6 separate regions of the Homo sapiens genome follow, and regions 2, 3, 4, 5 and 6 are each linked to region 1. The links are contacts of gene promoters, found by promoter capture Hi-C in blood cells and fetal thymus (Javierre and others, 2016). All regions are on one chromosome and are shown on one strand. The core of a region is centred on a gene start or on the middle of the fragment in contact, and the rest is flanking DNA. Distances in the headings are between cores, read along the strand shown.

What was found. The method cuts DNA at HindIII sites, captures the fragments that hold promoters and counts their contacts. A CHiCAGO score of 5 or more calls a contact.
Region 2: a fragment that was not itself captured here is called in contact with the fragment with the promoter of CT62 in region 1 in 5 of 17 cell types (endothelial precursors, M1 macrophages, M2 macrophages and 2 more); the score reaches 8.6 in endothelial precursors.
Region 3: a fragment that was not itself captured here is called in contact with the fragment with the promoter of CT62 in region 1 in 1 of 17 cell types (endothelial precursors); the score reaches 5.1 in endothelial precursors.
Region 4: a contact is called between a fragment that was not itself captured here and the fragment with the promoter of CT62 in region 1, in 1 of 17 cell types (endothelial precursors). The highest score is 5.4, in endothelial precursors.
Region 5: a fragment that was not itself captured here is called in contact with the fragment with the promoter of CT62 in region 1 in 2 of 17 cell types (M1 macrophages and endothelial precursors); the score reaches 5.6 in M1 macrophages.
Region 6: a contact is called between a fragment that was not itself captured here and the fragment with the promoter of CT62 in region 1, in 1 of 17 cell types (endothelial precursors). The highest score is 6.4, in endothelial precursors.

Annotation. Positions count from the first base shown.
Region 1 is chr15:71,113,202-71,117,657 of GRCh38, reverse strand. CT62 (cancer/testis associated 62) reads left to right here and starts at 2,154. Exons shown (of 4, transcript NR_168260.1): 1 at 2,154-2,734; 2 at 3,895-4,027. It overlaps THSD4 (thrombospondin type 1 domain containing 4), which reads right to left and starts at 2,187. Exons shown (of 18, transcript NM_024817.3): 1 at 1,960-2,187. RefSeq lists silencers at 1,794-1,883, 2,034-2,173, 2,204-2,263, 2,110-2,287, 2,324-2,373. The HindIII fragment of the contact is 2,227 bases long and covers 1,037-3,263 here.
Region 2 is chr15:71,802,705-71,807,160 of GRCh38, reverse strand. No RefSeq gene overlaps it. Among named protein-coding and RNA genes, the nearest start is that of NR2E3, 5.6 kb to the left of the region's middle. RefSeq lists an enhancer at 2,327-2,396 and a silencer at 4,117-4,411. The HindIII fragment of the contact is 1,287 bases long and covers 2,027-3,313 here.
Region 3 is chr15:71,785,345-71,789,800 of GRCh38, reverse strand. No RefSeq gene overlaps it. Among named protein-coding and RNA genes, the nearest start is that of NR2E3, 23 kb to the left of the region's middle. The HindIII fragment of the contact is 2,967 bases long and covers 896-3,862 here.
Region 4 is chr15:71,757,740-71,762,195 of GRCh38, reverse strand. It overlaps THSD4 (thrombospondin type 1 domain containing 4), which reads right to left. Exons shown (of 18, transcript NM_024817.3): 15 at 4,121-4,294. Among named protein-coding and RNA genes, the nearest start is that of NR2E3, 51 kb to the left of the region's middle. RefSeq lists an enhancer at 1-968. The HindIII fragment of the contact is 660 bases long and covers 1,734-2,393 here.
Region 5 is chr15:71,723,121-71,727,576 of GRCh38, reverse strand. The region is part of intron 8 of THSD4 (thrombospondin type 1 domain containing 4); the gene reads right to left. Among named protein-coding and RNA genes, the nearest start is that of THSD4-AS2, 34 kb to the right of the region's middle. The HindIII fragment of the contact is 7,320 bases long and covers 1-4,456 here.
Region 6 is chr15:71,651,274-71,655,729 of GRCh38, reverse strand. All of the region lies in intron 7 of THSD4 (thrombospondin type 1 domain containing 4), which reads right to left. Among named protein-coding and RNA genes, the nearest start is that of THSD4-AS2, 38 kb to the left of the region's middle. RefSeq lists an enhancer at 1-189. The HindIII fragment of the contact is 558 bases long and covers 2,388-2,945 here.

The DNA of each region.
Region 1 (4,456 bases), core at 905-3,404:
TGGCTGGGAGTCAAGAGGGGAGATTATTACTGTAATTTGGACATGGTTGAAGGTGGGGGCAGTGGGAATGGAGACAGGTAAATAATTCCTCAGATATCACAAAAGAATGTGGAAGAGATTTTGCGATGAATGAGCTATAAATGTGGGGGACAGAATGGGAGTGTTGGGAACATTTAAACATTGAGACTCCCAGCAATTAGGATAAAAGTGGTACCATGGAGAGAAATGTGGGGGATGGAGAAGACGGCAATACACAGCCTCTGTGTAGGATAACTGATTGCAATCTCCACAAGTTTTTCGAGGCAAAAACAAAAACAAACTCCAAGTCAAAAATCTCCCCACCCCTGATCTTCCTCCCAAACTCTGGGCTGTATTTTTCTTTCGCTAACAGCCAGTAAGAAATATTTCTTTATGGCATAGGAGACTAAAAAGAAGGTAATGCCAAGCTGGTGCCCCGCCCAGTGCTGGGCACAGAGGAGATCACATGAGTTCCACTGGCCAGCCTCCCCACAAGAAACCAACCCAGTTGCTTATTCAGAAGGGGCTCCAGTATCCTGATCACCCAAACTCATTTCCCAGGCCCAGACCTCTGGGAAATCCCTGCTCCAGCCCTGCAGAGATTTATAGGAAAGTCCCAGGACGCCCATCTGCTTGCTTCCTCACATTAATTTCAGGGCTAGGATTTTGTTTTCTAAAGGAATTCAACTATGATGCCAACAAAAATCTATAGGAATTGAAGAGTTCCGTATTTTAAGTCACATTTTTAAAATGTTTGCTTCTTTGTATATTGAGACCCAGTAAGACCCTAGTAAGCCCAGTTACTCCATCACCTCCAACAATATTAATCAAGTAGAAGACACGCGGATTTTAAAAGCTGTGTGATCCTTGAAAAATCTTCAGACTGTCAGGGGTCCTGGGTGCCTCCAACTGTGAAAGGAGGGTTGGACAAGGCGATTCCTTAGATCTCTCTCGGGTATCTATTTCTCTAATTCCAAATTCCAACAGGCATCCAATGATTGCTACCCACGTCCAAGCTTTAGACTCATAGCCCGAAAAGGGCGAAGCGCAGCGTGGTAGAGATCGCAAAGGAGACAGGAAGAGAAGCAAGCATGCACTTTTAGTAAGACGGCAAAGGAGGCTGGGAGGTACGGTGCTGGGTGCGGACTGCTTAAAAAACTTACTAGACCACAAATTCCAGATACTTAGGTGGGCCCGAGAACGCCCTAAAATCCCCTTCCCAAGTGAGGGCTGATGTTATTTCAAATAAAAAGAAAACTTAACTTCCAGATCTGTAGAGCTCCAAGGTGAGCTCGCTGTGCAAAAGCTACTTCTGTAAGTGCGCCAAGGGGCCGCAGGTACTTAGGCTGCACTTGAGGAAGTGTCCAGAGTTGGCGGAAACAACCCATCCACTCGGGCTCCAGGCGCTCGCTGGGTTGCAGCAACTAAACTGAGACAGACAGACACACAGATCCGAGGCCCCAGGCCAGGACTCAAGGAGCGCTGACCGAGACTTGCCCGGCTCTCGGGCCCCAGGCGGGAGGGAGGCGAGGCTGAGGTGGGGGGCGCACGGGCTGGGTGTGCACTCGCCGGTCCCCTCCGACCCGACCCGGGGAGCACGGGGCCCCGACCCGGGGACGACTGAGGTGGATTGTCCCTAGAGTTTAAGACTGTCCCTAGAGTCGAGGGTGGAGGGATGAGCGCCGGCGCCAGCACAGAGCAAGACTCCCAGCAAGGAAGAGAACCAGAGAAGGAGGCGCAGCCGTCCGCACGGACCAGGCGCGCGCTGGCTCCCCGAGCCCGGAGCGGCGCAGCCCGCGGCGCCCCGGACACACCCACTGGGTAGCCCGCGCCAGCCCGCCCCGCCGGCCAGAGAGCGGGAGCCGGAGCCTGGGCAGCGGAAGCCGGGTCGGGGCCGCGCGGGCGGCGCGCAGGGGACGCGGGGCGCGCGGCTCTGCTCACCTGGCGGTCCGCGTCCCGGAGCGACCGGCGGCCGCCTCGCCTCGCCTCGCCCCCGCGTGGTTCCCGGCGCCGGGCAGCCCCGAGCGCCGCCGCATGGACGGCCGCCACCGCCGCCCAGCCGCCCCGCGCCCGCCCTGCACGGGCTCCCGCTGTGCCCCGATTCCGCGTCGGGCTGCGCGGGCGGCCAGCGGTTCAGGCGCGCGCGGAGAGCTCTGGCTCAGAGTTTGCGATCCGAGAGCGGGATCCGCGCTCCCTCGGTCCTTCCTCCCTCCCCTCTTGCGGCCTCCCGCTGTCATCTGGAGCCGCTCCTGCCGCCCCCTGGCGGCGACCGCGGGAAGGGCCGGCCCCCATCCGCACCCCTGACCCCGGAGGTCAACAACGGGATGGTCCCTGGGTCCCAGGGGAAGAGACATCACCCAGTAGGAGGGAGTACGGTCTAGACAGAGGCCACGAGGGCGGGAGGGGGCGAGAGTGGAGAGTGGCCCAGCTGGCCAGGGTCGTCTAAGTGAGAGGAAAAGGGAGAGGGCGGTTGAGACCAGGCCCTGAATTCCGCGTTCATCTTATCCTGAGGTCTGTGGGGACCTGTTGAAGGACTGGGGCAGGGGACGGACGCGGGCATCCTTCCATTTGGAACAGCCATTCCGGCAGCATCAGGATGGGGCGGAGGCAAAGCGGGGAGTGGGCGAGGCAAGTGGTGCTGTAAACCTGTGCGAGAAGGGGGCGGTGACTCTAAGGGCAGGAAGGAGCCCTGGTCACACACACACTCCCACGCAAGGTAGGACGCGCTGGGCTCCTTCTGAGGCCAAGGGGAAAGGACAAGAGCCCTCCAAATTCCAACGGGGGTTAGACAGCATGGGGAGGAGACACACACACCCTGACGGCCAGAGCCGTTCGGGATTCTTTCTTGTCTTATTCAGAGTAATATTTTGTTGGGGAAAAAAAAGCCTGCTGCAAAAAAATAATAATTCTTCTCATTAGTAATGATAAAAATCAAACTTTGATCCCTTCATTTTACGAATTGGGAAATTATTGCCCCCAAAAGGGCATGACCAAAGTGACGCGTTTAGTTAATGGAGGGAAAATTGCTAGGGCCCCGTTTCTTGAGTCCTAATTCAGAGCCAAATTCTTTACATTCGAGCCAAGGTGTTCAGAGCTGGGAAGGCAGGAAATAGAGTGACTGTGAGGAACTGTCTCTTCTTTCCCCAGAGCAGGGAGGGGGTGACAAATATTTGAAGAGGCTGTCCAGATACAGGCGTTTCCCTAAATTTCAGTCAGCCTGTTTGTTTATCGCTGCCTCTAAAGCTTGCCTGCAGGGGTTGTTTTGAAAGTGCAGGTATACCGAGAGGACAATGAAGGAGGTGGCAGAATGCAAGCTCCCTGCCCCAGAGCCAGGCAGCACCAGGGCTGGGTGCAGAGCGCTTCGTGGGAGCAGAAGGGAGCTCCCAGGGAAGATTGTCCTCCAGAAAAAAAAAAAAATTAACAAAAGGGAAAGAGGCTACTCAAGAGATTAGGCCAAAGAAAGAAACACCATTTTGAGCACCGACTACTGGCCCGGAGCCTGGCAGAGCCAGTTCTGATTGATTCAAGAGCTGGTTCCAATGGGATGAAATAATTCCACACTTGATCAAACAGATTTTGATGGGAGGCACCTGGTGTAAATGGGATTAGATTAATTCTGAGTGTCACGAGTCTCATGGGTCCAAATTAAGTCGATCTAACAGCTCTAGTAAATACTGGCCAGTTTAAACCATTTAGAACTGATTTAAAAAAAAAAACCTGCGCAACTTTAGAATGTACTTAATGTCACTGAATTATACACTTAAAAATGGTTAAAATGGAAATTTTTATGTTATGTACATTTTACCATAATTTTAAAAAAGCAAAACTAATAAGATTTGTTCAAACAAGATTGATTTATTCATTCATTCGAGACAGGTATTCAGTGCCGAGTGTGGCCTTGGTGCTAGGATTCAAAGAGGAAAGGAAGAAAACTTTCCATTCTAAAAGAAACTCCACGTGAGGCGAAGAAGATGAAATATAGTCAGAAAACCATACCAGTAGGTGGTAGGTAAATGCAGAAGTATTTAAGAGCTCATACAGGAGTACCTGCCTCAGGACAGGGAATCTGAGATGCTCTGCAGAGCTGGATCTTAAAGAACGGAGTGAGTTCATCACATAATGTCTGGGGCGAACAGGGCTCAGGAGCAAAGGATGTGGTTTTGTTTGTTATTTTTTAATTTTGAAATAATTTTAGACAAGTTTCACAAATAGTACAAAGAATCCCCTTATATCCCCCACCCTCTTCCTCTAATGTTAACATCCGACATAACCAAAGTATGATTATTAGTGAGCAAACTTGATTCGACAGACCTAGGCTGGCTCCTTAGAAGTGATTCCAGTCCATTTTCAACCTTGGTCAAATTGTTTTGACCATATTTTGCTTATATGTCACAAGAAAGTCTCTTTCTTTAAAGTCAAGATAATACTTGTTTTATTT
Region 2 (4,456 bases), core at 1,421-3,920, 690 kb before region 1:
ACTCCTCAGGCCGCCTGTGCTCTCCGAGAGAGAGCTTCTCCGGGTGCAGATCTTGTCCTTACATTGAACCTCACTCCAGGTCAACTTTCTCTCCTCCATCCAGATGGAAGATTCCAGGGAACAGGCTTAGAGTTTCGGGTTAGCTGGGGATGAGGATCCCAAGGCACTTAATGGACAGAGAATCTGTTTTCAACCTTGTCTGTATTTCCCTGTATTCTGTAGTGGGTATGTATTACCTAAAATGGCAAAAACAAAACAAGCCAGGCCACACAAGAAACCCAGTCCCATCTAAATGAAAGCCCCCTGCAGTGTTTGACCGGCCCATTTTTACGCTGTTGATTTTGACTGTATTCTGTCACTCCATCACGTGGATGCCAGCCAAAATCCCCTCTGAGCCTGGCCCTGGGTTCTTTGGCAGGTCAGGCCAGCCAGAGCTGTGCCCTATGCACTGTGCTGGGGGAATGGAAGCCAAAGCCCAGCAGGGCCTGGGGGTTGGGGGGGTCTCCCCGATCTGTGATCACCAGCTGCTGGGGCAGACGCCAAAGGATTACTCAGCCCAAAGCCCTGAATCTGCTGACTAAGCTGCCAGAGGCCACCTTATCACTAATACAATTATTCCCCCAGGGGACAGGTCAGCAACTTCCTCTGACTCCCAGGAGGTCTGGGCCGGTTGGGGGTGGAATAACAAGGCGTGATAGGGGCAGCAGGACTGACCTCCCTCTGCATCCTCAGGGCCCTGGCAAGGAATCCCCTGTTCTAGCCTCTCTAGGGGGAGCGGCTCTCTGGGCTTCTTGTCTGGGGCATGTCTCAGCCACAATACTGGGTGCTGGGAACAAATCTTCCAGGATCTCTTTTTTCCTTATTTTATTTTTTTTGAGACGGAGTCTTGCTCTGTCGCCCAGGCTGGAAGTGCAGTGGGGTGATCTTGGCTCACTGCAACCTCTGCCTCCTGGGTTCAAGCAATTCTCCTGCCTCAGCGTCCCGAGAAGCTGGGATTATAGGCGCCCGCCACTATGCCCGGCTAATTTTTGTATTTTTAGTAGAGATGGGGTTTCACCATCTTGGCCAGGCTGGTCTTGAACTTCTGACCTCAGGTGATCCACCCACCTCGGCCTCCCAAAGTGCTAGGATTACAGGCGTGAGCCACTGCACCTGGCCCCAGGATTTATTTTTTCTTTCTTTCCTTCCTTCCTTTTCCTTCTTTTCTTTTTTTCTCTCTTTCTCTTTTTGAGACAGGGTCTTGCTCTGTCACATAAGCTGGAGTTCAGTGGCGAGATCACAGCTCACTGCAGCCTCAGTCTCCTGGGCTCAAGAGATCCTCTCGCCTCAGCCTTCCAAGTAGCTGGGACTACAGGTGCACACCACCATGCCTGGCTAACTTTTTAGTTTTTCATAGAGATGGGGTCTCCCTGTCTTGCCCAGGCTGGTCTCGAACTCCTGGGCTCAAGTGATCCTTCTGCCTCAGCTTCCCAAAGTGCTGTCACCATGCCTGGCCCAGGATTTATTTCTTAAACAGTCACCCACCCCCACAAATTCCTGCCCACCCCCCGAATTCCTGCCCCCCACCCCCAAGTGTCTTCACCTTCTTTGAAGCATAGCTAGTGGGGAGTGCACAGGCCCTGGAGCTGAGGCCTCAGCCATCCACACTCCAGGAAACTATCCCTTGGAAAATTTTACAAAGATTTAATTATATGGATGTACCCTGCAGCAATTTTCTAGACAACTGGCTAAATAAGTTCTACTCCCTCTGTACAGTGGAATCCCATGCAGCCATTGCAGCTGGTGGTGTTCCTATATTCATTTACATGGAAATATGTCCACAATGTCTCAACTTCAAAGCCACTTACAAAACAGACATGGATAGTTTGATTTCATGTGGCCCAGGGGAATTTCTGGCTGAAGATCATGGGATGCTTGTCTCCTTGGCAGGACCTAAATGAATCAATGGTTTTCTTTCTAGAGCAGGGAGTGGAAGGTGCAGGGCTCCGAGAGGCAGACACCAGCGGGAATGTTTCTCAATAAAGCTTCTTTCTTTTCTTTTCAAGATAACATTTAGAAATGATCAGATATTCCCCTGCACAGTTTTCCCAGCCCTTGACTAGTAAAGTCTTTTTCCCCTTGAACTCTTCTAAAGGTCTAAGCAGGGCTGGCGGGGGCCCTGCCCTGTCCTGGGACAGGCAGACAAAAAGCAGCCTGTCTGGAACATGCACCATCTGTTGCTCCACCCTGGGTCACCTCTTCCTCCTCTGTACCCGAGATGACTGACAGGAAAGACCTCCAGGTTAGCTTGGCTTGACTCCCAAGCACCATGCGAGGTGGCTGTCTCAGTTCTGTTGCAGAGCTGTCACCAGAGGCCACCGCAGACATTCTCCCCACAGGCAAATATTTCTGTTTCATTTGAATGTTTAATAATACACATGTATTACAGCTCTAACCTGGATAAAATACAGTTCTTTGTATTTTAAAAAAAGAGACTAATTTGAAATCAATATTACCTATACTAATAATGATAGGAAATATTTATAAAGAAATTCAGTCTTTATGTGTGAAAATGAGAAGCTCCCCATGCTTTCATTTTCTCTCCCTCTTCACCCAAGAGGAGGACCTAAATCTCTAGCGGCTGCTCTGGCCTGAGCCTCCGCTGCTTGGAACAGCTGCAGCCCCCAGTGCAGAGGCCGCCCGTCCACCTGCTGCACCAGGTGTAAACCCTTTAGTTGCTGGGCCATGGGCAGATCTGGAGACCCTGGGAGGGGCCAGAACACTGGGGGCAGGCTGGGGCAGGAAGCTATTTGAAAACCAGTATAGAACTATTTTTAAACGTTTAACAACAGGCACAACCACACCAGGGTACACTAGCTGACTGACCAGTTCATTTATGCTGGTGGTGAGGACACCATGGAGGAACAGCAGTCAGGGCTGTGTCCAAAAAGTTATCTGGCTCTCAGGCTCAGAGTATGCATTCTTTTTTCATTTTCTTTTCTTTTCTTTTTTTTTTTTTTGAGACAGGATTTCGGTCTGTCACCCAGGCTGGGGTGCAGTGTGGCGTGATCATGGCTCACTGCAGCCTCGACCTTCTGGGCCCAAGCAATCCTTCTGCCTCAACCTCCTGAGTAGGTGGGACCACAGGTGTGTGCCACCACACCCGGCTAATTTTTAATTTTTTTGTAGAGATGGGGGTCTCCCTATGTTGCTCAGGTTGGTCTCGAACCCCTGGGCTCAAGCGATCCTTCTGCGTTGGTCTCCAAAGTGCTGGGATTACAGGGCGTAAGTCAGTGTGCTTGGCCTAGAATTATAATCAAGATAAAATAAAGCTTTTTTGTCTTTTTAAAAGAGACGGGTTAATTTTTAAAAAATACGAGCTGTAATAATAATGGAAAATATTTATTAAGAAATTTTATGTGCCAGACACAGTTCTAAGCGTTTATATGTGTAAACTCATTTAATCCTCACGACAACACAATCAGATAAGCATTGTCATTATTATCCTTGTCTATAAGCAGGCGCCTGTAGTCCCAGCTACTCGGGAGGCTGAGGCAGGAGAATCACTTTAACCCAGGAGGCGGAGGTTGCAGTGAGCCAAAATCATGCCATTGCACTCCAGCCTGGGCAACAGAGCAAGACTCTGTCTCAGAAACAAACAAACAAAAAACAAAACAAAAACTTCTGTGGAAGTCGAATTATTTTGAAGATAAAATATTTAAAAACAATATATACAATTAGAATATATTAAGGGGTTATTAGTTTGTTATGACAATGGTATTGTGGATATGTTTAATTAAAAAATAATCCTGCTAGAGATATACTCTGAAGTATTTACAGAAGTGAGTCAATGTCTTGGATTTGCTTTTAAAGACTGTTTTTTTTTTTGTTGTTGTTTTTTTTTAATAAACGAATGAATGAAAAGAGGGAGTAGATGAACTGAGGACTGAAGGTGATAGTTATTGATATGGGTGATGGGTACATGGGTGTCATGGACCTTTTATCTCTAATTGCTTTTGTGATTGAAATGTTAGGTAATAAGTTTAAAATATGTATACACATACAAGCTGCCTACACGAACAATGAAACAACAGGTGCCACTGATGACTTTAGACGCTCTACAGGCTCCTCAGCTTGGACCCTCCCCACCCTACTCTGTCTCCACTGCCCATCTTCGCCTTGCCTTGCAGCTTTGGAGGCTCTAAACTGAACCAGGTGACGCGCGCGGCAGGAAACCCCCGGTGCTACTGGGGAACTGCCGGGCCAGTCGGTGGACCAGCGCCCCCTCCTGGAAGGACAAAAAGCGCAGCGAGAGGGGCCGGTGCCACCTTGCGCTTCCTCTGACCTCGAGTGCTGGCTCTCTCCTTCGCGCTTCTGGCTATACCCGGTTCTGGCTCGGCTCGGCCTGTTCTTTCCCTCTTTCTCCAACCGACTCCTCCTCACACTTCAAGACCAGCTCCAAGGTCTCTCCTGAGAG
Region 3 (4,456 bases), core at 1,130-3,629, 670 kb before region 1:
AGTGCGTGTGTGTGCATGTGTATGAGTGCATGTGTGCATGTGTGTGCGTGTGCATGCTTGTATGTGTATGAGTGTGTGCATGTGTATGAATGCGTGTACGTGTGCATGTGTACGTGTGTGTGCATGTGTTTGTGCATGTGTGTGTGTCATAGGAGAAGCCTTCCTTGTGTCCCCAGGCTCTTATTCATGAAGCCACAGTGATCATCAGCAGTATCTGCTGTGATGAACGCCCCATGCTCAGGGTGTCAGTTCTGGCTGAAGTTTACTTTTAAAGAGAGTTTAGTCTTCTACGTGATGGCTTCGTGTGATTGTTTCAGAAAGGCCGCAGCATGCAGAGGAACCAGCATAAGCTTTGAAATGAGGCGGACTTGGGCTCAAAGTCCCCAGTCACTTGAGACCTGCATGATCACGAGCAAGTTCCCTCACCTGGCTGAGGCTTTGTTTTCCCCGCTGTAAAGCAGAGAGACCTGCAGCACCCAGCTGTTGAGGTGGCTGTGAGTATACAAGGTGAGGTCGATCATGTGGAGGCGCGGTAAGTGTAAGTTCCCTAGCTATCTGGTTAGAAATAAAATCTGTAGCATCACCCGTTCCAGCTCTCAGCAAATGGAGAGCCAAATATGGTGTCCATTCATAGGCTGTTCGCTCCAGAAGCCTGATGCAATAGGTCTCCTTATCTGCAAGTGTTTTAGGTTGCACAGCATTTTGTAAGTTCCATGAGATTTATGTATTTCCATTGCCCCAAACATTGCTTGGCACAGAGTGTGTGCTCAATAAATATTTGCTGAATAAAGGGAGGATGTACGACCTAAACCCATTTTAAGGAGTAGTTCCTCAGTGGGTCAAAGATGAACAGACACTGCGGTGTTTGAACTTTTGTTGTCCCTTCCTAGAAGCTTTTGCTTGGTAAGGGTGCAATAATCAGACATCCCAGGTTGTCTCACCCACATCCTTCCTGTCTTTCTTCTCTGCTAATGGAACCCCAATTGGTCACAGCCAAGCATAACAATCCCTTCTCTGTCTTCCCAGCTTCCTCTGCAGCCACAAATGGCCATGGAGCCCACTTTGGCCAATAAGATGTAAATAGAAGTTTGTGGGACGTAGGATGGGGCTCTGGGAATGTATTTGGTTTATTGGCAAATGGAGATACACAGCTGCAATGGCCCTTCCTGCTTTCTTCCCTGAAGATGGACATGATAGGTGGAGCAGGAGAAGCTGGCTTGCAACCATGAAGAAGAGGCCAAGAGAGCTGCAGAGAAGCTGGCCCTGAAGCTGTTGAGTTGCAGACCTAATCCAACAACTGCCTCCCTCTGAACTTCTTTTTTTATATTTTGAGATGAGGTCTTGCTCTGTCGCCCAGGCTGGAGTGCAGTGGTGCAATATTGGCTCACTGCAGTCTCTGCCTCCTGGGTTCATGCAATTCTCCTACCTCAGCCTCCCGACTAGCTGGGATTACAGGGGCATGCCACCATGCCTGGCTAAGTTTTGCATTTTTAGTAGAAGGACTTCCCGGCCAGGTGCGGTGGCTCACGCCTGTAATCTCAGCACTTTGGGAGGCCGAGGCGGGCAGATCACCTGAAGCTAGGAGTTCAAGACCAGCCTGGCCAACATGGTGAAACTCCGTCTCTACTAAAAATACAAAAATTAACTGGGTATGGTGGCATGCACCTGTAATCTCAGCTACTTGGGAGGCTGAGGCACAAGAATCGCTTGAACCTGGGAGGCAGAGGTTGCATTGAGCCAAGATCGCGCCACTGCACTCCAGCCTGGGTGACAGAGTGAGACTCTGTCTCAAAAAACAAACAAACAAAAAACCCACCAACAAAAACAAGTCCCCAAGTCAGTGCAGTCAAGGTTTCTCTTTTGTGTGGACAGCTGAGTGCCTAAATACACCAATTATCTAGTAAAAACAAATAAATCACCTATGCAGGAGCACAGAGGCTTAAAACCACTTCAGAGTCCCTAAGCGTCATTGGCCAAAAGGTGAACTAGTAGATTCAGACCTAGCATCTAGACTTCATAGAAGACTGTTTTATAAAGAAAGCAAATGACTCAGAGGTCACCTGCTCATCTTCCCGGTGAATATAGGAAACCCCTCAGCATTCTGAAGGGTGAGGTGCCTCACTTTTCAGTGCGGTCCTTGGACCAGCAGCATCAGCATCACCTGGGAGCATGTTAGAACTCAGTCCCCACCCCAGACTAACTGTATCAGAATCCGAAATTCAACAACATCCCCAGGCAATTCATATGCACATCAGAGTGGGACATACTCTTCTCAGTGTTTTCAGCCTTAGCTAGAATTCCCTGGAGAGGTTTCAAAACATCGATGCCTGGTCCCCACCCTCAATCAACTGAAGATCAAAATATCTGGGAGTAGGGCCCCCATATCACTTTTAAAAGAAGTTCCAGTTGATTTCATTAGACAGTGAGGCATAAGGAAGACCTAAGCCAGACTGTCCCACTTAATAGCTTGGTCACATTACTTATTCTCTTTGGGCCTCAATTTATTTGTCCATAAAATGGCCGCACAAGAGTGCTTGCTTCATGAGTTGTTGCGAAGATGAAAACTAAGTGCTGTAGAGACTCGGACGATACCTGACATCGAGTGGTGCTCACCCAGTCAGGGTTCCCCAGCCTTGATGAGGGCAAGGATCACCACACAGATTCCTGTCCCCTCTCCTGGGACCTCCCCTCCTCTCCACTGGCTCCACTGTCCACTTTTGGAAGGCTTGTTCTTTGCTTCGTTAACCCATTCTAATATTGTGTCTTCTTTCCTAGCACTTTGTAAACCCGCTTCTCTCTCTTTTCTTGGTCAGAGAGACCAAGGCAACTGTTCCCGATAAAGTGATGTAAGGCGCCTTATTAAATTGCACTTGAGTCTACTAAGTATTGACCATTCCTCCTCCTCTTCTCCTCCTCTTCGTCCCGCCTCCTCCTTCCCTACTCCTCCTCCCCTTCCTCCTCCTCCTGTCCGTCCTCCTCACCCTCCTCCCCTCCTCCTCCTCCCCTCTTCCTGCCCCTCCTCTCCCTCCTCCCCCCCTCCTCCTCCCCTCCTCCTTCTTCTTTCTTTCATCTTTCTTCTCCTTCTCCTTCTTTTCTTCCTTTCCTCCTTTCCTCATCTTCTTCTACAGGGTCTTGCTTTGTCACACAGCCTGGAGTGCAGTGGTGCAATCAGAGCTCACTGCAGCCTTGAACTGCCTCCTGAGTAGCTGGGGCTACAGGAATGCACCACTTCGCCTGGCTAATTGTTATTTCATTTTTTTTAGATATAGGGTCTCACTATGTTGCCCAGGCTGGTCTCAAGCTCCTGGGCTCAAGTGATCCTCCCCCTTCAGCCTCCTAAAGTGCTGGGATTCTTTATGGGTATGAGCTACCATGCTCAGCTAGCCATTCTTCTTAAACCATAATTGATAAATGATTCATTGAAAAAAATTCAAACAATTAAAAACATTTGTTTGTGCACATAATTTACCTTGCTTACCTTCAAGGTTGAATGAGCACCCCAGTTAATTCTTATTAGGTAAATCTGAAAAACACAGCGAAAAAAGTTAGTTCTCTTTCTCCCCATCCCCTTTTTGTACTTTATTTCTGCCACCCACAACTTTCTATTTTAGGAAATTTCAAACCTCAGAGAAGTAGTGTAATGGACACCACATACCCTTCACTAATATTCACCAAAATACATCTTACCTTATCTGTGTGCATGCTTTCTCCATACACACATGTGCATGTGTGTGCACACACACACGCACACACTTTTAGTGACCCATTAGAAGGTAAACAGCAGATCATGACCTTCCTGGCTAAGTACTGGAGGAACATGTACTCCTGTTTGGCCAAACACCATCCTCACGTCCAAGAAGCTTTACACAGATTCAACAATGTCATTTTTTTTTCTTTTTTGAGACAGAGTCTTGTTTTGTCGCCCAGGCTGGAGTGTAGTGGCATGATCTGGGCTCACTGCAACCTCCACCTCCCAGGTTCAAGTGATTCTCGTGCCTCAGCCTCCAGAGTAGCTGGGATTACAGGTGTCCGCCACCAGGTCCAGCTAATTTTTGTGTTTTTAGTAGAGACAGGGTTTTGCCATGTTGCCCAGGCTGGTCTCGAACTCCTGGGCTCAAGCAATCCACCCACCTTGGCCTCCCAAAGTGCTGGGATTACAGGCGTGAGCCACTGTGTCCGGCCAATGATGTCATCTTAAATACAGCCCATATTCAAATTTTCCCTCTCCTAAAATGTTCCTGATCACTTTTTTGGGGGTCTCACTCACTCTCTCTCTTTTTTTTTTGAGACAGGATCTCACTCTGTCACCCAGGCTGGACAGCAGTGGCTCGATCTCGGCTCACTGTAACCTCTGCCACCCAGGCTCAAGTGATCCTCCCACCTCTGCCTGCTGAGTAGCTGGGATTACAGGTGTGCACCACCACACCCAGCTAAGTATTTGTATTTTTGTAGAGAT
Region 4 (4,456 bases), core at 814-3,313, 640 kb before region 1:
TGTGTATCTCTATCTCTGTGTGTGTGTGTGTGTGTGTGTGTGTGTTTGCACACGCGCATGAGACAGCATTTGAAGACAAGAAAGGGCAATCAGCCTTGATGGACCAGAAATTATGGGGAATCTTTGAACAATGAAAGACAGATGAGATCAAATTGAAGAAGGAAACTATAGTCCAAATGCACACAGAGGAGGAGCTCTAGCAAAACTCATGTGCTTCAGGCTATATTGGTGGTGGACATGGAGATCAGGATGGAGGCCTCAGGACAATGAGTGATCAGCTGAGTTACTGGCCAAGAGCAGCCGGGCTGGCCTGACTGTGCCAAGGAAGAGGAAGCAGTGAGTCATCTGCCAGAAGCATTCGTGTCAAAGTGCAAAATGAAGTCATTTTCAGGTATTCAAGGGCTCAGAAACCTTACCACTTACAAATCCTATTTGAAAGACTTCCTGGGTTATAGTCTTTAGCAAAATAAAAAAGAACCAGGAAGAAGACACAGGACATAAAAGAAGGAGCTGGCAAAGACACCAATAAAAGCCGTTATTACTAATGGATGCCAGGTGTCTTTTTGGAATGATAAAAATGTGCTGGAATTGGATAATGCTGAATATGGTTGTACAACTTTGTGAATTTACTAAAAACCAATGAATTCTATATTTTTAAAGGGTAAATTTTATGGTACGTGAATTATATTTCAATAAAAAAATCTTTGGGGGGAAAGCAGAAAACTATTTTAAAATTTAAATCTATATTTTCTATAAAATTAACATTAATCTGGAGCTAGATCCAGATAATATCAACATCTTTTTGGAGATATTGTAGATTGAGAGAGTGGAGGTAAATAAAAGGGGAAGGCTTCTATTTTCTTTTAGGAGAGGATGTGGTCACTGATAACTTGACACTAATGGAGACATAAAAGTTTAAAATTCTGTGCTAAAAATTTGAATCTTATCACAGAAGAAATACCACTAGAAGATTTATAACTTCCAAAATGTTGGAGGGGAAAAAATGGAATTAAGAAAACCTGACTAATAACAAGCATGTTGAAAGGAAAGAGGAAAGAAGCAAGAAAGCATGAAAATAGAAAACACAAAATAAGATGGTAGGGAAAAGTCCAAACATATAAGTGATTACAATAAATATAAATGGTTAAAATTTAACTCTTAAAATACAGAGGTTTATAGATTGGGTAAAAATAAAGACAAAAATAGTCCTGAAAGACATACCTTAAAAATACATAGAACGTTTGAAAATTAAGAAATTGATGAAGATACATCAGGTGAAAATCAACAATAAGAAACAAGATGGAGTAATTCAAATAGTAGATAAAATGTAATCCACAGAGAAAAGCACACATGAGAAAAAGTAATATTTAATAGGGATAAATGCTTTCAGTGAGAAGTGATGGCAATTAGGCATGTTTCTGTACCTAAAGAATTCCTGCAGTTGCACTTTTGTGGATCACTGATTCGCGAAGAGATGAGAATAAATATATCTATTGCAATAAATGCAATCAATAAAATGCAATCCAGACCCAGAGGCAGACAAAATGGCTGCTCCTGAAGACTAGAGACTGTGACAGATCTCCCCGGAACTAAGACAATCTAAGGTTGCAGTAAACTCAGAATTGATAGAGAAGAAAGGAAATAATTCTGGGCATAAATAATAGACTTGGTAGACTCTCATGAGTAAGAGTTGGGCTACTGTGCCTCCAGAGTAGAAAAAGACTCCCTAAGCTTGATATACTCCTAGTTAGTTTCCAGGGATCTGGGAAGCAGCAGAAATGGAATATATTCCTTTCTTGGTGGAGTCAGAAAGACTCTAAAGCCAGAAACTCCTTGGTCTCTGCCTCTCCATGGACTTAGGTCTCATTCTCTCAGACTGGCTTTTTGCACAAGCCTCAGTAGGGCCACTGCCAGCCCTTGAGCTCACAACCTCTTAGTGAGTCTCTTCCCTAAAACACAAATGAAATGTCCTTGGGAAGGATTCTGTGGCTCAGCTTGGGTCACACATCCACCTGTTGGATCACATGTCTACTCCTGGACTAATCACTGTGACCAGGCTGGTGGGGTATTCGAAATACCAACTTTCATTCAACCCATATGGTGAGAAGGAACATTTATTTTTATATTCTGAAGCCAGTTAATGTTTAAAACTTACCTTTCAAGAAATAAGCATGCTCTTATTTCATTTTCTTTGGGGATAATGTCAAATTCCTAGGGCAGGGAATTTCCAGCAGGCCCTGACATCCTTATAAATCCAGAACCAAAACCCTTGGCCACATTCAATTGTATCTTGACCCTTTTGGACAACAGGGCAACAAATCCTTTGTTTCTAATCTTAGCAGAAATAAAGGTTGTCTTTGCCAGGGTTCATACCACCCTTGGTTCTTTAAGCTTAGGTCTAAAGTCAATAGGAAGCCACAAGCAAAAAAGGCCCTGAATCCTGCTCCCTTCTCTTCTAAGAATGGTAGACATATGAGTTCGATTGTACTGCTTATCTTCACGTGTGTGACTGTAATGATCTGATATGATTTCACACATCTATGGATATTTGGTATAATTGGTGTCCTATATACAGTCGCTGCTGAATTATCTTTGGGGTTTAGGTCCTATGTATTTTACTACCAGTAATGAGATAGAAATAGCTGGCAGAAAAAATAAACATAGAGAGATGGGAACCAATATTTATTAAGTGTTTCCCATATCCCAAGCAATGGGTAATTCTCTTTATGTATAGCATCTTATGAAAACCTCGTAACAACCTTAAGAGGTTGATATGATTACCTTCATATTCAGATGAGGAAACAGGCTCAGAGAGGTTAAATCACTCACCTAGAGCCAGAAAACTCATGAGAAGTCAAGCTGGGATCAGTTAGCAAATGTGTCTAACTTTGATATTCACCAGAGTAGCACTGGAAGTACTTGAATTCTTTCTGAATTCTCTATATTTTAAAAAACATTAAAGGGAATTTGAATAGAAAAACATTTCCCTATGCTTTTTGCATAAAAACTCTACATTGAAGTGGCAGAGATGATAGGGTTTGAATATTTTCACATTCTATTTCTCACTTGCCATTATACCACATGCACTTTCACATCTTCCTAACGATCGCTGTCATTGTCACCTTATATTTTACTGAGTTATGATATGCCATAATATCTGTAACCATCCTGCTGTCATGAACATCTCTGTTGAAAAAGGCTGTTTTTTTTCTTTTGTTAATTATTTCCTTAAAATGAATCCCCAGGAGTGGGGTGACTGGGTTAAGGCAAAGGAACATTTTTATGGTTCCTGACTTTTATTGCCAAATTGCTTTCCCAAGGGCTTGTGTCAATTTACAAGGATAAGGCAGTGCATTTTTTTCCAAGGTCAGTTTTTAATGCTACTTAAAAGAAATAAAATTCTATATGGAGCCAGAGGTCTTGATAATGTGTAAATCATGATCATAAGCCAAACAGTCCTTGGAGAACCAGCCAGCCCTGGGAGCCAAATGCTAAGTGGCTCAAGAACTCCAATACTGATGATAATCAAACCAAGGCAGTCATTTCCACATTTTCTTAGTGGGGTTCACGTTCAATTTTGGAAGAGTGAGGGAAAATGTAATTCATCAATTATTAAAGTATTCAGTATTATTTATTCTTCATAATGAACAATTCCAACTTTTAAAATTTCTGCTTCTGATACTGTCAAATACAGAAAAACTGGCTTTATTAACAGGAATAATAGCAGCAGCCACCATTTATTTTGTGTCAGGCACTGTGCTACATACTTTATGTACACAATTTCATTTCTTCTAAAAATAACCTCATAAGGTACCATCACTGCCAGCATTGTATAGATGAGGAAAGCATGCTAGGCCATAAGCCCCCTGAGGGCAGAGATATTTGTGTTGCTCACTGATGTAACCCAAGTACTTAGATGAGCACACCGTAGGTGCTCAATGAATACTGTTGACTGACTGAGGCTCCAGAAATATAAATAGCTTCTCCAGGGTCACAGATAGACAGTGGCACTGCTGGGATTCAAAGCTGGGACACCTGACACAAAGTCCTGGTTCCTAACCCCTCTGGTATGCTGCCTTTTGCCTGACACAGGCAGACATACCCAGTTCTGGCCACTCACCTGACTCCAGCTCCCGGCAAACCACTCCACCTTGCCCGTGCAGGGTCCGTTGTCACATGGGGTGGCCTCTGCCGGCCGGTTGTTCCCACAGCCCTCCAGGGGCAGGCTGCTGACATGGTTGGTCATGCACACCACCGAGCGTGTCCGCACTCCGGCCCCACACTCCGCTGAGCACTGTGAGACAGGGGAAGGGCACATTAGTCAGGAGGCCCTGGCAGCTGCTGAAGCCACTTTCAAATGATGGAAAGGAGGATGGAATGCTTCATTTTCCTGCCGTCTGTTTCCCCTAGAAATATCTGGCAGCTTCTCGTGCATAGCCTACTCCATTATGAGATA
Region 5 (4,456 bases), core at 593-3,092, 610 kb before region 1:
TATATATATATATATATATATATTTTTTTTTTTTTTTTTTTTTTTAAGAGATGGGGTTTTGCCATGTTGCCCAGGCTGGTCTCAAACTCCTGAGCTCAAGCGATCTGCCTGCCTCAGCCTCCCAAAGTGCTGGGATTACAGGTGTTAGTCACTGCACCTGGCCCAGAATTTTTCTTATAATTCTCTCTACTTACATGTCTACTACAAGTGGCAAAGCTAAAGCTAAGAGGGTCACATGATTTTCTCATGTACCTGGTCAGCTTCATTCACTTCTATGACCTTCCTGAGTTCCTGGGCATCTGAGGCTGTGGGCTGTGTTAGATACCGCACGTGCACTGTCAAATTTAATCGTCACAACATTGCACAGCAGATGTTATAATCCCCATTTTTCAGAGTGGCTCAGAGATGGGAGGGAACTTGTTCAAGTTCATGAGGCCCATAGGGGTCAGACCTGTGATTTCTAGTGTGTACTCAGGAGGCGGGTACGAAAGGAGAAGGGGGCAAGGAACAAGGTGTTGGAGTTAACAGGAGAAGAAAGGGTGGCATCTGGAAATAGAATTTCTTCAGCTACCCTTGGCACCTGGAAACCCACAATCCAAAGGAGGACTGGTTTAGAGAAGGTACCTTTTTTTTTTTTTTGAGATGGCGTTTCGTTCTTGTTGCCCAGGCCGGAGTGCAATGGTGCGATCTCGTCTCACTGCAACCTCTGCCCCCTGGGTTCAAGCAATTCTCCTGCCTCAGCCTCCTGAGTAGCTAAGATTACAGGCATTCACCACCATGCTCTGCTAATTTTTGTATTTTAGTAGAGACGGGGTTTCACCATGTTGGTCAGGCTGGTCTTGAACTCCTGACCTCAGATGATCCGCCTGCCTCAGCCTCCCAAAGTGCTGGGATTACAGGCGTGAGCCACTGCGCCCAGCCGAAGGTCCTGTTTTAAGTGCTATGTACATAGTGGACCTGTGATGGCCACTGGCTCTTTGCACCTTCGGTTTATAGAATTCCTAAATTTAACTTTTTATAATTTGTTATGGAAAAATGTATACATATGCAAAAGTGGTGTGAACAATATAATAAACCCCCATGTACCCATTGCTCAGCTTCAACAAGGATCAGCTCATGGCTTCTCTTGTGTCACATTGCAAATATGTATCCTTCAACTTTTCAGTAGGTACCACTAAAATATAAGAACTTTTTCTTAAACTCATTTTTTCAGCCGCGTTCCTACAATGGGCCTTCCCAGAGCTCTGGCCTGTAGAATCAGAAACTGCACAGAGGGGCTGGAGTGGCCCAAACTCCAGCTGGGCTCCCCCTGCAGACTCCACACTGGGCTGGCTGGTGCCATGGCTGCAGGGAGGGCAAAGCTGCAGACCTTTCACTACTGAATTACAAGATCAATTCAGCTTACTGAGTAGCAAAAAAGGGTCAAGGGTGGAAACTGAGGAAGAACAGATTTGGGGCTATTCTCTATGAAGAATCACACTTCTTCAAAAGTGGTGCGGCTGGGCACGGTGGCTCATGCTTGCAGTCCCAGCACTTTGGGAGGCTGAGGCGGGCAGATCACCTGAGGTCGGGGGTTTCAGACCAGCCTGAACAAATGGAGAAACCCCGTCTCTGCTAAAAGTACAAAATTAGCCAGGCATGGTGGCGCATGCCTGTAATCCCAGCTACTCAGGAGGCTGAGGCAGGAGAATTGCTTGAACCTGGGAGATGGAGGTTGTGGTGAGCCAAGATCGCACCATTGCACTCCAGTCTCAGAAAAAAAAAAGGAAAAAAAGTGGTCCATATAATGTCTACCATTTTCTCACTTCCCACTAATTCCTCAACCATCTCCAATCTGGCTTCTGCCTCCATCATTCCATTGAGGAAATTTAAAATTAGCTCACCAAGACCCCCATGTTGCTAAATCCAATGGGTGTTTCCCAGGCCTCCTCTTTTCAGATGTCTCGGCAGCACTTGGCACTATTCCATCCTATTTGAAACACTCTCACCCCAGCTTCTGGGAACCACACTCCCCTTGCTTTCCTCCTGCTCTCAGGCTGCTCATTTCTGTTTTCTTTTCTGTCTCATCTTTCTCTACCTGGCTATTAAATATCAGAATTTCTTAAGGAATAAGAGTAGACCTGCTTTGGGCACTATATTCCTTTCATGAGCAATTTCCTAGGACCATGATTTCAACTACCATATGTGAATGACTCACAAATTTATGTTGACAGGCCAAACTTTGCCTCTGGCCTTAGAATTTCATATGTAATTACCTCCTTGCCAGCTTTAGTCAGATGTCTTGTCTAAGGCTGAACCCAACCCCGGCCTCAGTGTTTCTTATCTCAGTAAATGGTACCACCATCCATGTAATCAGAAACCCAGGAATCATCCTGGATACCTCCTCTCTTCCTATCCCCCCAAATCTAACCCGTCATCAAATCTTATTTAATTACCTCCTTGCCAGCTTTAGTCAGATGTCTTGTCTAAGGCTGAACCCAACCCCGGCCTCAGTGTTTCTTATCTCAGTAAATGGTATCACCATCCATGTAATCAGAAACCCAGGAATCATCCTGGATACCTCCTCTCTTCCTATCCCCCCAAATCTAACCCGTCATCAAATCTTATTTAATTACCTCCTTGCCAGCTTTAGTCAGATGTCTTGTCTAAGGCTGAACCCAACCCCGGCCTCAGTGTTTCTTATCTCAGTAAATGGTACCACCATCCATGTAATCAGAAACCCAGGAATCATCCTGGATACCTCCTCTCTTCCTATCCCCCCAAATCTAACCCGTCATCAAATCTTATTTAACCTCCTCCGCCTCTCTTCATGTCCACTGTCATAATCCAGGGCCAGGCTACCATGAGATCTCATCTGGACTAATAAAATATCTTCTAATTGATCTTCCTGTTTCTCTTCTGTTCAGCTAGAACAGTATTTTCAGAATGTAGATTAGATTACCAACGATGGCTCAAAATTCTTCAATGGCTTTCTATTGCTCTAGGCAAAAAAGACTGGGCGTAGTGCCTCACGCCTGTAATCCCAGCACTTTGGGAGGCTGAGGCTGGCGGATCACGAGGTCAGGAGATCAAGACCATCCTGGCCAACATGGTGAAACCCCGTCTCTACTAAAAATACAAAAAATTAGCTGGGCGTGGTGGTGGGCACCTGTAGTCCCAGCTACTTGGGAGGCTGAGGCAGGAGAATGGCGTGAACCCAGGAGGCGGAGCTTGCAGTGAGCCGAGACCACGCCACTGCACTCCAGCCTGGGTGACAGAGCAAAATTCCATCTTGGGGGGAAAAAAAAAATATATATATATATATATATATCCCATCATAGAGGCCTCCTCCCCCAGATGCTGCAGCCCAGCCTTATCTTGCATCACTGTTCTTCTCTCTGTGCTCTGCTCCTGCGCCTTCTTTTAGCCCATCTACAACATCATCTTCCCTCCACGGTGCTGTCCCTTCTTCCAGAAATGCTCCTCCCTCAACTCCAAGTTCTATTCATTTTTTTTTTTTTTTTTTTTTAAATAAAGACAAGGTTTTACTCCTGTTTCCCAGGCTGCAGTGCAGTGGCACAATCATGGCTTACTGCTCACTGCAACCTCCTCCTCCCAGGCTCAAGCAATGTTCCCACCTCAGCTTCCCACAGGTGCGCACCACCACAATCGGTTAATTTTTGTATGTTTTGTAGAGATGGGGGTTTCACCATGTTGCCCAGGCTGGGTCTTGAATTCTTAAGCTCAAGCGATCCTCCTGCCTTGGCCTCCCAAAGTGCTGGGATTACAGGTGTGAGCCACTGTGCCTGGCCCTATTCATTCTTTAGATGTCAATTTCTCCAGGGCAGTCTTCTCCCACCCCTAGTCCAGCCCCCTCTCTTCCCTGCCATGCTCTAAGGGATGCAAGAAACTTTCCTTCAAGGCATTTAATTCAGTTTAATTCAGTTTGTCCATACACTTACTGAGAGAATTATTTGATCAATGTTTGTCTCCTAGTACACTGCCAGCTCCAAAAGATTTCATCTCCATTACAGTTTGAGAGTCTAGCATAGTGCTCACCACATAGTAAGAATTGAATGTTTACACAGTAGACAAGGGCAAAGAGCTCAAAAGAAAAGCAAAGAATAATAAATAGGCAATTCACAGAAAACCAAGTACAAGTACTCCATAAGCAAATGAAAAGAGGCTCTGCCTTACTTATAATTCAAGAAATGAAAATCAAAGCCACAATGGGATCATCCTGACCATCCAAATTAGCAAACATTTTAAAAAATTTAATATTGCAAGTATTGCCAGGTGGGTAAGCAAGGAAGTATTGATGGCATTGCTGGTAGGAATGTAAACAGACTCAGCCATATTGGAGGGCAATTTGATTACATGGCTAAAACTTGAAATGCCCATACACCCTGACCCAAAAACTCTACTTCTAGGAAACTACTTGAGAGATATACTTCTATGAGTATACAAAAATGTTTCT
Region 6 (4,456 bases), core at 1,417-3,916, 540 kb before region 1:
TTCTTGTGCTGTCTCTGCTGCTGACGAGTGCTGTATCTTTGGACATTTTGATGAGCTGTTCTGAGCCCTGGGATTTTTTTTCTGCCTGGATGGGGATGGAGCAGCTACCCCTTAGGACTGTTGGGAAAATCAAATGAGGCAAACATAGAATGTAATTAGCAGAATTCTGCAATATGGTGGCTTCTCAGAAAATGCTGGGTTTTGTCATCTTTGTCTTTATGTATTTTATTTTGTCTGAAGTCTATTCACTTTTAAGTAAATCTCATCATCATACAACCACCCGGACCCACCCGTACTTCTGTAACACTTTCTACTACTTCTTAGTCAGAAATATTTTCTTCTTCATTTGGTGAAATTCAGAAAACTTTGAAGTGCAAAAAACAAAACAAAACAAAATCGGCCAAGGTTCACCATAAAGTCAAGACACCTCATACAGCTTCTACATTCTCACTGCTCAAACGGTACCTGTCGAAAAAGGCCAGAAAGAACATCTACTCTCTGATCTACCTTTATTTTATGTTTCTTGCTCATCGTGTACTGCTGTTCAGAATAGATATTTCTTGCTGTTACAAAGACCAGTGGATAACCATCAGATGTCCTTTGTATTTTTTCCAGTGATTTCTGCAACACGTTGTAGGAAAATTTTACACATCGCAAGCCATCACAGGAGAAATTGCTCAAGAATTACCCCCAATTGTGTGCCAAAATTAACCTGAATGAAATTTCCTGAGGGAAATGAGCAATCTGGATGACATATTTGGAGGTGAATTTCACAGGGAGGAGGCCTCTGTCCTTCACAGCAGGGTAGGCTGGTGCCAGGCATTCAGATAGTGGAGGTCCTGATTCCCTAATGGGAAGCAGATGTGTCTGTGTGTGCTCAGTAAACACATGAGATAGGGTAACCTCAACTGTTTGGCTAGATGACCCCCACAGGTAAAACAGCGTGCCTTAATAATCATGCTGGTAGAACAGTATGGGAGAATATTAAAATGATTAGTAGCTGACACCAATTTACTTATATTTACGGTGAGCTAATTCGTGGAAATGCATATGGATGCCAAAACGTTTATTCATGACATTCTGTTGAAAGAAATCCTTTGTATATGATAAATATCTTCCTGTTATTACTGTTAGGCATGTAGATCAATACCACCTTCCTGGAAAGCAATTTAGCAATATAGACCGTTTGATCCAGTAAATTCTTCTTCTAGGAATTTATGCCAGGAAATAAGAAATCAGGCCAACAGTTTCTGTATGAAGGGCTCATCACAGTATTGTTAATAAAAAATTGGAAACATCCTAAATGTTCAACATAAGGAAACAGTTAATCTATTCTGGGTGGATCTTTTTCCAGTTGTTATTCTCATTAAAATCTTCTAACACTTATGCCTGTAAAACTGACCTTCGATATAGTTCAGTAAATGTTTCCTGAGCCAACTTCAACTACGTGCCAATTCAGTGGTAGGCAGCGGAGACATGAAGGTAAAACAAACAAGGTTCCTATTTACAGTCTAAATCAGGGGTCAGCAAACTGTAGCTAGTAGGCCAAATCTGGCTCACAACCTGTTTTTATAAATAAAGATTTATTAGAACACAAACACTCCCATTTGTTTAGTTATTGTCTATGGCTGCTTTTGTGCTGCAACAGCAGATTAAGTAGTTGCAACACAAACAGGAAAGTCGACAAAGCCTAAAATATTTAGATCTGGCCCTTTACAGAAAAAAATTGCCAATCCCTGGTCTAAATTGAAAGTCAGACACAATCAAATCACTTCAATATTGTTTGTAAATGTCGAGTCCTGTGCAGCCAAAACCAAGGCTCAGGTAGATGCTTCCAAATCTACCCCTGACTGCCCTCATCCTGTATCATATACACCCACTTGATTTGTTCCAAAGTGACTCAATTGTAAAACAGAAGGCAGAGAGTTGTCTTCTACCACAGTAGTCTTCAACTTTTTTAAGTAGAAAAAAATATACTTCAAAAATAAAATCTCATGTGGAAATCCAAAGCTCCACTATGCAAAATGAGAAGAGCAGAACTGCTTTGGTTGAAGGACTGTCAGGGTTTAGAAACCTAGCTTCTCATCCTCCTGCCTGCTCTTCTTCCTCAAGGTGAGGGCTTCTCAACTCCAGCTCTACTGATGTTTTGGTCCTGAAAGGTCTTTCTTATGGGGGTTGCCTTATGCATTGTAGGATGTTTAGCAGCATCCTTGGCTTCTACCCACCAGATGCCAGGAGCATCCCTCTCAGTGTGACAAACAAAAATGTCTCCAGACATTGCCAAATGTTCCCCATGGGAGCAAAATCACCCTCAGTTGAGAATCACTGCTCTTTATTCCAAAGCTCATGGGACACCGAGGAGCACATGACAGATTCCCCAGAAAGCTTTAAAATGATGGTAGTTCCACAGAAGTGCACAAACAGCCTTTGTAAATGTCAGAGAAGCTAATAAGCAAAGAACACTTAATTATCCAGTTTCCAAAAATAGTTCCTTACTGCTATCAAACCTTCTCGAGTTCTTTAAGATTGCCTCTTGGCTTAGCTTCAGCAGGAGTATCATTATGTATTGCAAAGAGCACAGTACCTGCGACTTGGTAGGTGTTTAATAAGCGTTTGTTGAATGAAAGAGCAGCTGGTTGAAGAATCAAAAGATCAAAGTTACAGGACCAACCTGCTCTTCGAACTGGCTCATCTCTAAGGTCCCTTCTGGTGCCAAAATTTTTCTTTTAAAAAGAGATACAGCCCTGATATGAAGAATCCTGCCATGTTTAAAGGGAGGGAAATTTGCTGTATATACACAAAATTAAATTGGAAACAGGAATCAATGAAGATCAAATTGACGATGCCATTCATTTGAAGAGAAGAAATGGTCCATGGCATAAAAGGTATTTTGGCTTCCTAAATGAAAGCAATTGTAAAACGAGCGATCTGGTTTTAATCAAGCTTATGGCTGTCACTTTTCAGTACCTCATCCTAGTTCATAATAGGATAGCATCTTATCAAGGGACTCAACTGGAAGAAAATGTTGGCGCTCTTGTAGGATAAAACTGGGTAAGAATCAACTGCAGCTATGTTTACAAATCTGAAGAAAGGAGTCCCGAGAGGTAAACATATCATATTCTGTAAGATAATTACCACCTCCCCCAATTCCAACAAGGGTCATCGTTCTCTGGAGGGTGGGGATATCCCAAACTCTAAAATTCTAATGCTTTACTTTCATAATTTTCCTCCTCCATGGATTGAAATGGGGGAAGGAGGAGAGAGGCCTGAAATAGCTTTTGACAGTGATAATTGCTCTATTATAAAAGTAAGGTAACCATATTTTTGTATAGAATACTAGAAACCTCTAGACTTTCACTTTACTTTTAATGTGTAGAGCCGTATGGTGAATTGTGTTTAAAGAGATCATAATATGTCTGGCCAGATTTTATTGTAATTTTTTAGTGTCTCAGGAGGGGCTGGCAGCAGGAAAAAACCACGTGGGATGGGTCTGTTAGAAGCTGTGGTTTGGGGCTGATAAGGGGTCAAGACTAGGAAGTTCCTTGCAGAATGGAGCAGAGAGACACTGCCTACACCCTATAAGGCAGAGTTCTGGAGGCTAGATTATCAGCAAAAAGGCAATAGTGAGTTGGGTTGATGAACTCTGATCCAGGATGGAGGTTGCTTGCACACTGGCCTGATTTACAGGGCCTCCTGAGCGCAGATGGCCTGTGTCTACCAATGCAGGTCCCCAGAAGGCTCTCACGGGACCGTCCCCATGGCCAGAAGGCAATGATGGAGATTCACGCCGGCATCTTTGTCATTTCCTTAACACACAGCCAAATGTGCCTGTTTGCATTTTTCTCCACAAGATGGCACCTCTAAGCCTTTGCAAGAGGGTACTTACCTAAACAACTAGTTTAAGTACAAGAAGCAGTGATCCAACATTAACAAAAACAATGACTGTTGAGAAACACAAGAAGGGTGGACCCAGAGATGCAGGCTGACTGCATATTTACTGTGCTCTTATGTGCAAGTTTCTGCCATGTTGTTAAGGCATGATTTCATTTCTTAAAATTTTTTTGGAACATCAAAAAAAAAAAGGTGGGTGAAATATTCAAATCTTGTATTTCCAAAATGTTCAAGAAAAATGCTTTAAAATCTGTGTAAATGAGTTACAACATTGGGGAATATATAGGCTTCTTAGCTATCATTGGGCCATCTCCAGGGACGGCTGAGAGGACTGACTGGGTGAGTGGGACGAGATGATGAGAGAAAAGGCTGGCAACGAAAGTGTGGGATCTTAAATCCGAAGACTCTTGAGTGGGAAATGGCAGGCTGAAGAGCTCTTTTCAGAAGATGTCTGGCAAACACGGGCAATGGACTGGAGATGGAAGAGACTGGAGACTGGGACACACACAGACAACTGCATTAAGATGGGCACAAAGTGATGGAGGCCTGGACCAGAGAGATGAAA